Regions from separate parts of the Homo sapiens genome. Here region 2 is linked to region 1. Evidence: promoter capture Hi-C in 16 types of primary human blood cells and fetal thymus (Javierre and others, 2016). All regions are on one chromosome and are shown on one strand. Each heading gives the region's core, a stretch centred on a gene start or on the middle of the fragment in contact. The rest is flanking DNA. Distances are from core to core; before and after follow the strand shown.

Region 1 (4,989 bases), core at 771-3,270:
GCAGGCAGAGGTTGCAGTGAGCTGAGATCGTGCCACTGCACTCCAGCCTGGGCAACAGAGACAGACTCAGTCTCAAAACAAAAAACAAACAAACAAAAAATGTGGTACACTTTAAATACAGTAGTCCTCCCTTACCTGCAGTTTCATGTTCTTAGGTTTCAGTTACTCACAGTTAACTGCAGTCTGAAAATATTATAGTATTTTGAGAGAGAGAGAGAGAAATTATATTCACACTTTTATTTCAGCATCATTTTATAATTGTTCTATTTTATTTTGAGTTATTATTGCTAATCTCTTGCTGTGCCTAATTTGTAAACTAAACTTTATTATAGGTATGTATACATGTATGGGGAAACCAGTATATGTAGGGTTCAGTACTAACCTATCCCAGGTTTCAGGCATCCACTGGGAGTCTTAGAAAGTATCACCCATGGATAAGGAGGGGCTATATAGACATTAATTTTTATAAAAAAAATAAATGGGGGCTGCTTTGCCTATAGAGTAGCCATTCTTTTATTCCTTTTTTTCTTAATAAATGTGCTTTCATTTTAAAAAATAAAAAATAATGAATAAATAAATAAATGGGGCCAGGTACGGTGGCTCACGCCTGTAATCCCAGTACTTTGGGAGGCTGAGGTGGGTGGATCACTTGAGCCCAGGAGTTTGAGACCCAGCATGGACAATGTAGTGAGACCTCATCTCTACAAAAAATAGCTGGATGTGGTGGCTCATGTCTGTTGTCCCAGCTACTCAGCAGCTGAGGCAGGAGGATTGATTGAGCTCAGGAGGTTGAGGCTGCAGTGAGCCGTCATCAAGCCACTGCACTGCAACCTGGGCAACAAAGCGAGACACTGTCTAAAAATAAAAATAAAAATAGAAATAAAAATAAATAAATGAAGACTCTTGCCTTGGATGCAACCCCTCATATGCAGCTGGCTGCTACCTAGTGCTTAGAACTCTTTCTGCCTATATGTGTTAGACACATAGTAAATGATAATTAAAGAGAGAATAAAGTTGAGGACCTAATTCACATTAAAATATAAGCAGTTTGTTGGATCTACTTATCTCAACATATCTGCATTTTAATAAAAAATTATACCTTAACATTCCAAAATTGATCTCAAAAGGTGACATTTTACATTCATCTACTGTTCTTTGGAAAGATAATTTGGGGCAATTGAGCTGCTTTCTTTGTGATCCCCAAAAACTGTTACAGAAGAATGAAGAGGACAAGAGCTCAGTATCTATATATATGAGCACACATCCAAACGTTTATAAACTTTTATGTCTAGGAAGAATGTATTTGCTCTCAGTATATGACCCAACATATGAGTAAGGAGTCTTTTTTTTTTTTGAGACAGTCTCGCTCTGTCACCCAGGCTGGAGTGTAGTGAGATGATCCTGGCCCACTGCAACATCCGCCTCCCGGGTTCAAGTAATTCTCCTGCCTCAGCCTTCCAAGTGGCTGGGATTACAGGCACTCTTTACCATGCCCAGCTAGTTTTTGTATTTTTAGTGGAGATGGGATTTCACCATGTTGGCCAGGCTGATCTCGAACTCCTGACCTCGAGATCTGCCTTGGCCTCCCAAAGTGCTGGGATTACAGGCTTGAGCCACCATGCCTGTCCGAGTAAGGAGTCTTAAAGGATGCATTAAGGTTTGTGAGTAACCCGGGTCTTCTCTGGATAATCTCCGTGCTCAGGCACCTCTCTTTTTCTACTCCGAGCATTGAACAGGGGCAGAAGGAAGCAAGCCATGAGAGAGAGGGACAAGTGTAACCAGAAGGTCCTCAAGGGTCCAAAAGCAGAGCTCCTGAGAGCACAAATTCCCACAGGTGCATACTAAAAAATATTTATGTTTCTACTTTGGCAGAACTCAATTAGTTCCCAGTGTACTGGAATGAAATGGAACAATGAGACCCACCTCACTAAAAACCTAGGCTCCTGTCCAGAACTTTCCAGTCTGTGAGAGAGCAGTGGGCAGAAGGAGATGATAAAAGTAGGTAGAACTTAGCTCTGTATATATAGGCCCAGAACTCGAGAGGCCTGTGAGGGAGAGGAGAGCAGAGAGGTCCTGAGTATTGCTCTTCACGCTTCAGTCGGACAGGCCTGTATTCCATGGGAAAGTCCATTGGCCATTTTTAACTGGGGCTATTTCTTTTCTCTTATGGACTATATCAGGCCACAGTGGTCTCCAAGGGCATGATACTCAAAGGTTGTCTCCTGTATCCTTTGTGCTCTCCCAGGAATAAGCAAAGATGTGCCAGGCTGTGGAAAATAGCCTATGGAGGATTACTAAAGATAGTGACTGGCTCCCTCTTAACATTTTATGTGGTTCTCTGTCTTGATGGCGGGATGGTGCTCATGAGGAAGCAAGTGCCATCAAGGTTCATGTACCCCAAAGAGTGGCAGCACCTCACCATGTTCATCCTCCTCACTCTTAATGGCTGTGTGGACTTCATGAGCAAGAATGTGCTGCCTCAGAGGTGTGTGGGCCTAGAAAAAGGTACCCTGGTCCTGATCATCTACGAGCTCCTGCTGCTGATGGTGTCACATGTTAAAGATTCAGAAGGGGTGGAGCTGCACGTTTATTCTCTGCTCATCTTGGTGGTGTTCCTGCTGTTGCTGGTGTTGACTGCAGAGCTGTGGGCTCCCAACATGTGTCATCTCCAGCTGATGGAGACCTTTCTGATTCTGATGATGGGCTCCTGGCTGATGCAGGCAGGCTTTATTCTATACAGACCCGTCTCTGGCTACCCATGGCAGGACGATGACATCAGTGACATCATGTTTGTCACCACCTTCTTCTGCTGGCATGTGATGATCAATGCCTCATTCCTGTTGGGAATCTATGGCTTCTCTTCCTTTTGGTATCATTGTTTCAGACCCAGCTTGAAGCTGACTGGGCCCAAAGAAGCTCCATATTATGCAAGCACTCCAGGACCCCTCTACAAGTTGCTACAGGAAGTGGAGCAGTCAGAGAAAGAGGACCAGGCTCTCCTCCTTCCAAAGAGCTCCCCCTGAGACAGGGCCTACAGTGGCTGGCACATCGTCCACCTCATCTTCCTCCTGTTGGCTCCTCAGCCACGAGCATGGTACCCTCCTTGGTAAAGGTAATGGCCTTGAAGGCTAGCAGTTGGTCCCGTCTGCTGGTTCATTTTCTTTTCTTCTCTTTTCTTTTTTTTTTTTTTTGAGACAGAGTCTCGCTCTGTTGCCCAGCCTGGAGTGCAATGGCACAATCTCAGCTCAGTGCAACCTCCGCCTCCCGAGTTCAAGCGATTCTCCTGCCTCAGCCTCCCGAGTAGCTGCAATTACAGGAGCCTGCCACCATGCCCGTGCTGGTGCATTTTCTGTCCCTGAGCCTCTAATTACTGAGAAGATAAGGGGAGAGGGATTGAGAAAGAGACGCTGATGGGATTTGCGGGAGGGAGGGAAAAGGACGAGGAGAACACTTCTTCTTAGTGTGCAAGAAAAGCCACTGGGGGAAGAGAATGCAACAAAAGGAAGAGCTGTGAAGGGAGGAGAACAGAGTCTAGCAGTTATGCTGTCATTAGCGTCATCAGGCACAAGGGATTGCCTTTTACCTGAGGGAATAAAGACTTCTCACAACTCAAAACTGGACCCATTCAAATCTCATCTTGATAAAGAAAAGTGGGTACTTTACGTGCTCACCAAAGTGGTGCCACCATGTGGAAATAGCATGATAGAATTTATAATTAATTCATACAGGCTGAAATTATGCTCGCTTTGCCTCCTTCTCTCTCCGCAGCTTTCAAGAATTGGCTTCATTTCAAACTTTACATATAAAGTGAGACTTTTTAAATACTTAATAACATTTCAAATTTCCATAATTTAAATTTGTATAGAATTCAACTGCTATAGCATTTTTATAGCATTCAAATGCTTGGTACTTCCCTGACTTCTCATTTTATTACTCTTATTCTAGCCCAAACTTTCCTTTTCACCATGACCACCCTTGCACATGCAATTTAGCAGATACCATTCTTGGGTCTTTGCAAATTTCTTTTCCTTGCAAATCACAGCCAGTCATCCTACAGTCACATATTTACCATGTTATTCGATTCCCAGAATAAACCTACATCCACCCCCACACCGCACCAAGTATCCCCAAGGTGGCCTTCTCCAGAACTCTTACTGATTCCCTTGTTTTGGAACTCTTGGGCACTTACATTAAATCTGCTTTGTTAGTTTGCTCATACAGGTGACCCACTTTCTTTTATACTGCTGCTGAAATCATTTTCTTTCAGAAGGTTCTTCCTCACCCACTAAAGTACAGGCTCCTAAAGGGAAAAGACTTTGCCTTATCCAAGTTACCAAATTTCCTATGTATACTCCAGCTATGGATCATGGTTATGTTTAATAAAGCCTTCTTTGCTTCCAGAGTCTTCCCTAATCCTGTTTCTTCTAAATGTATTGCTGGACAGGTTGGAGGTTTTGTGAATCTCTCTGGGTGACAACAACAGTCCTGAACACTGAGTCACTGCCTTAGTAATGCACCCACTCTCTTCCTTGTTTTGGGGTATAATAAAATCCAGTAACTTGTTTCTGAAGTTGACTCTGTTATTGTTTTTAATCCTCACAAATGTTTCTATAAGGAGTCTCTAGAAAACTGAGACTCCAGCAGGTTGACTTGCCCAAGTCTCACAGTTGGTATGAGGCAACACAGGAATTTAAGTGCAGGTGTGTCTGACGCAAGTGTGACTGTGTCCTCTGGGCCACAGTGACTTTGCTAATGGCAATGGAGAAACAAGTTATCTCAAAATGAAAAAAATGAAATTGTGAAAGAAAGAAGAAAGACGGCTGGGCACTGTGGCTCACGCCTATAATCCCAGCACTTTGCGAGGCCAAGGCGGGCGGATCCCTTGAGGTCAGGAGTTCGAGACCAGCTTGGTCAACATGGTGAAACCCTGTCTCTACTAAATATACAAAAATTAGCTAGGTGTGGTGGCCCACACCTATAATCCCAGAT
Region 2 (4,989 bases), core at 1,262-3,761, 98 kb after region 1:
TGGCATCAAAACTGAGAGGAGTTCAAGGTTGCCAGATAAAGTGTGAAAACTGAGGCCTCTAGGGAGAGGATTAGTACATTTCAAAGCCACAAGGAGAGAGAACAGCATGTTGCTTTGGAAGAAAAAAATTCCACTTGTTTGGACAAGAGAATTGGAGGAGAGATCTAGCAGCTATTAGATGTGGAAGGTGCTGTTTGTTCCTACTAAGGATACTGAACTTAATTCTAGGGCAAGGTGAAACCACACTGAAGGTTTTAAGCAAATGTATTAATCATATTTGTATTTTAAGAAATCAAACTAGAGTAGGAAAACTCTCTCTTTGGTAGAACCTGGGGATAAGAAGTAGAGCTGGAACTAGAACCCAGCTCACCAGGGACCTGGTCCCACACTACCCTAAGTTCTCCACTTTTTGTTGGTCTCAAGCTAAAGTAGGAAAGAAAGCTTGGTGTTAGAAGAGAAGCTTGAGAGTGCAGCCGCCCCCTTTTCCTTCTTCACTGGCACCGTGCCATTCACTGGAGAGAGAGGAGGACTGACTCCCTACGCAGACCCATGGCAGACCCCTTTACAGAGGTACCCATCCTGTGGGGTGTACCCTCACTCCCCCAGGGACTTTTCAATCTTTTTGTTGATTTTCTCTAGAAACACTTTTTTGGCAAGAGCAAAAACCCTGCAAATCATGGGTTCCTGTAAGACCCTCTTGGAATTCTGTGAAAGGGTAAATGTGATCTTGGAGAGTTATGAGAATGGATTGGTCTATTTTCGGAAAACAGCACCCAGTGAATTGAAAGCAGAAGTGTTTTCCAGGACAGACAATTGGTGTTTAAGAGAGAGAGAAAAAGAAACGAGGAAAGCATAAAACAGTTGTAGAAATGCCACTTTTGAAAGTGCATGCTTTACTTCTTGTTTCTATTTCTTCAAATCCACTGACTTCTGAAACCATGTAAATTTGTCTCTGCTCCTATTACTCTACTGAAATGTTTCCTGGCTAAGTCACCAATGACTCCTTTTTGCAAACCCAACAGCTGCTTTTTGGTGCCCATCAAAACCAATTGTCTGTCTTGGAAAACACCTCTGCTTTCCAGTTTATTAACCCTAGGCACTGAGTTCTGGAAGCAGGCCAATTGATTTTTATAACTCTCCAAGGTGACACCCTTTCACAGAATTCCAAGTGGGCTTTATGGGAATCCATTATTTGAGAGAGTTTGTGCTTTGTGGGGTTTTGTTTGTTTGTTTTTTTTTTTTTAATTCTCTTGACCCTCTCCAGTGGCAGAGAAACTTCTGAAACATCCTTCTTCGAGGCTTTGGCAATACTTTTCATTCTGGGTTCTCCTTTTTTCCCATCTTAGTTGGCTTCTCTTGCCTTGCATCCAATTAGATGCTGGTATTCCCTAGGATTCTAATTGTAGATTATTTTTTCCACACTTGCTGAGCCCATGCATGAATGATGCACGGGTCCTCTGCTGTCATGCATCATATACTGAAAGTTATTAAATGTCTATTTCTAGCTCCTGCATCTTCTGGGCTCTAGACCTAGAGTATCAGTAATTGCCTGCTGGATTTCTTAACCTGGATGACCTAAAACCATGTCATATGCTACAAGTCGAATACCACATTATAAGCCCAAATATCTTTTTCATCCCCAGTCAAACTGCTACTCCTCCACCATTTCCTGTCTCAATTAATGGCACCAATATTTGTCCAGGTACCCACTCCAGAAACCTGGGATTTATCCTCATACTCTTCCCTCTCTTTCAACTGTGAGTTCAATATATTGTGAAGTTCGATGAACTCTACATCCAAGATCTTTCTTCCCACCACACTTTGCTATCATCCATCACCCATGACTTTTTTGTTGTTTTGTTTCGTTGTTTTTTTTTTTTTTTTTTTTTTGAGATAGAGTTTTGCTCTTGTTGCACAGGCTGGAGTGCAATGGTGTGATCTCAGCTCACTGCAACCTCCGCATCCCGGGTTCAAGCGATTCTCTTGCATCAGCCTCCCAAGTAGCTGGGATTACAGGCATGTGCCACCACACCTGACTAATTTCATATTTTTAGTAGAGATGGGAGTTCACCATGCTGGTTAGGCTGGTTTCGAACTCCTGACCTCAAGTGATCCCCCCATTCTGGCTCCCAAAGTGCTGGTATTACAGGCATGAGCCACCGTGCCCAGCCCTTTTTTAAATCCAGGTTTTCTTTGTGTCAGCACATCCCTCCACGTTGCTTCCCATAATGATCATCTTCAAAGCACACATGTGATTTTCTCTCTCCCCTTTTAAAAATCTGCAAAGACTCTCCATCACCTCCAGGATAAAGTGCCATCCCCTGAGGGTGGTACAGAGGCTCCTCTGCAGTGCAGCCCCAGCTTGTCTCCTGGAGTCTCCTCCTGCACTCCCTGCTGATTGAACATGCCATACATGTCCTCCTCCCTCTTTGCTTTTGCCACTGTTATTTTCCTGTTCTACCAAGGATAAACCCTCTCTTCTCACCTAACCAACTTTCCCCACTCTTCAAAGCCTCCTAGGCCAAAGCTGTCACCCCCTGTGACTTTTCTTGATGCTCCTCTTCAAAACCTAGTAGAATAAATTATTTTTTGTTCCCTCAGCGCTTTGTTTATGTCTCTGTATAGGAATTATTGGATTATTTTATAACTACTTGCCTTTTTGTTTGTCTCTCCCTCTCTCAGGGACCTTTCCTTATTAATACATTACTGTAATTCCAGAGTGCCTGGCATATAGCAAACACTCAATAATGTATGCATTTTAATGCTTCCTCACTCTCTTCTTTCTAACCCCTTTCTAGTCAGCTGATTAAGGTATAAACAAAACCCAACTCATATTTTTTCCAGCTGAACCAGTTCAAATGAACACAGCAGGCCCTGAGAAGTTGTAATAAGAACGAAAGATCAAGGACTTGGAGAACAAAGAGCACATTGAGTTGTTTCAGTAGTGTTGACTGGGATTGCACCACCCCCAAGTGCTTGCTCAGAAAATAACAGTAATGCTTTATAGCCTAATCTGGTCTTACACTTTCCAAAGTGGAGGCCAGCTGGTGTTAACAGCATCACGGTGAATAAGCCAAGTGGTGTGTGTGGTGTGTGTGTGTGTGCGCGCGCGTGCATGCTGGTGAGGGTTTTTCAGTGACAGAGAAGGTGTTATCTCTATTTGGAAGGTGGGAAGCAGGGCTGGAATTGGACTGCTGATCCTCTAATGCAAGGCTGATGAAACTTTTTTTGTAAAAGGCCGGATAGTAGATATTCTAGGCTTTGTGGGTCATACATCTGTGTTGTACCTGCTCAGCTCTGTCATTGCAGCGGAAAAGCAGTCTTAGAGAAGATACATAAACAAATGAGTGTGGTTGTGCTTCAGAAAACTCATTTATGAACACTGAAGTCTGAATTTCATATGTTTTTCATGTGGCATGAAATGCTATTCTTGTTTTTGACTTTTCGTACCCCAGTGATTAAAAAATTTAGAAAAATGTTAACTCTTGGGCTAAGTGGGCAGCAGGCAGGATTTGGCCTGCAGCCATGCCATCGTTAGGCCCCATGCTCTAATGCTTAGTTCATCACGACATACCCGGAGTGGCTGGATTTGGGGTGGGGTCATACGGAGGGTGCTGACCTTATGCAGTACTGACTACGTGCCAGTCTCTGTGTTTCAGCACGGTGCATATGCCCACTCATTTCTTTCTTTCTTTCTTTCTTTTTTATTCTACTGCGTGTTCTCTGAACCTGTCATTCATTTCTTACAACAACTGTGTGAGCGAGGAACTAGTGTCACCCAACTTGGCAAGTGATCAGACTGCTCACCCAGCTTGTAACTGTCAGTGTCAGACTTTTACCCAGGTGTCTGGTTCTGAGGTGCATGTTCTTACCACCACATCCTACTACTGCCTCCTATAGCAAAATATCATTGCCATGGAGATCATATGTGATGGGTTATGTTTTTCAAAAACACAGACATTCTTATCAAAATGGGGTCAATTTTCCAAAAAAAAAAAATTGAGGACAAGGAGGACCGAAGGACAGATGTTGACATATCCAGCTGTGGGAAGATTGGCTCAGAATCCCCCAGGACTTAATATACTTTTCTGAATTTGTTATTGAGTTCTTTCTCCAGAAATTTGGAGGAATGCAGATAGTCCTCTTACCCTCTCAAAAGATCTTCCCTCTTGCTCCCTTTCCACCCACCCACCCTCCACCAACACACACACACACACACACACACACACACACACACAGAGTTCCTAGTTGTGCATATTAAACTACTGTCAAGTAATCTATTTGGCATTAGTAGCTAAAGAACAGATGTCAACTTATTGCTGCTTCCAGAGGGCCCTGCCAGATGAATGCAAAAGTTATCAATTCTCCCAGAAGGAATTACCCACAACACTTTTGTGCCTGCCCTTTCCTCCCTGCTGTTTCCAGTTTCTTCTCCTTGGACACCCACCCACTCTGAATCCAACACTTGACAGTGGCTCAAGGCTCTGACCACAGTGACAATGTAAGAAGAGTGGGTGGTCTCAGCCACCCTCTGCAGTTCTGGGAAGTTTACTCCAAGCTTTGCTTCTCCCCAGCCCCCAATTCCCCCTTCCTCCCTGACCTCATAAGCTCATTCCCTTCAAAAATCGGGGTGTGTCTGTCACCCCAGGCAGCAACAGCTGCAGGCCCTGGGAGCTCAGTGGATGGTGATGCAATTCAGTTGGGGGTGGGGGTAGAAGCTGGTGGCTGGGTGAGGGAGATAAGAGGAAACAAAAGGCAGTTAAAAAGATCTGTCAATGAGAAGGATGGTTAGAGCCAGAGGAGGACGTGGGTGTCCCTGAGCTGATGTGAACCTTGCCTCAACTCCTTGGCTTTCTCCCAGTCCTTCTCTTCTGACCCTCAGGGGTCCCTGGAAATCTGCTACCTCCTGAGCAGGGCACTCTCCTCTCCTCTCCCCTCCCCTCCCCTCCCCTCCCTTCCTCTCCCCTCTCCTCTCCTTTCTCTTTCTCT

The links. The method cuts DNA at HindIII sites, captures the fragments that hold promoters and counts their contacts. A CHiCAGO score of 5 or more calls a contact.
Region 2: a fragment that was not itself captured here is called in contact with the fragment with the promoter of TEDDM1 in region 1 in 1 of 17 cell types (megakaryocytes); the score reaches 6.3 in megakaryocytes.

The regions. Positions count from the first base shown.
Region 1 is chr1:182,397,698-182,402,686 of GRCh38, reverse strand. It overlaps TEDDM1 (transmembrane epididymal protein 1), which reads left to right and starts at 2,020. Exons shown (of 1, transcript NM_172000.4): 1 at 2,020-4,570. The coding sequence starts at 2,202. The coding sequence ends at 3,023. The HindIII fragment of the contact is 8,350 bases long and covers 1-4,989 here.
Region 2 is chr1:182,299,926-182,304,914 of GRCh38, reverse strand. All of the region lies in intron 2 of LINC01344 (long intergenic non-protein coding RNA 1344), which reads left to right. Among named protein-coding and RNA genes, the nearest start is that of LINC01344, 12 kb to the left of the region's middle. RefSeq lists a silencer at 882-931 and an enhancer at 2,689-3,206. The HindIII fragment of the contact is 4,098 bases long and covers 463-4,560 here.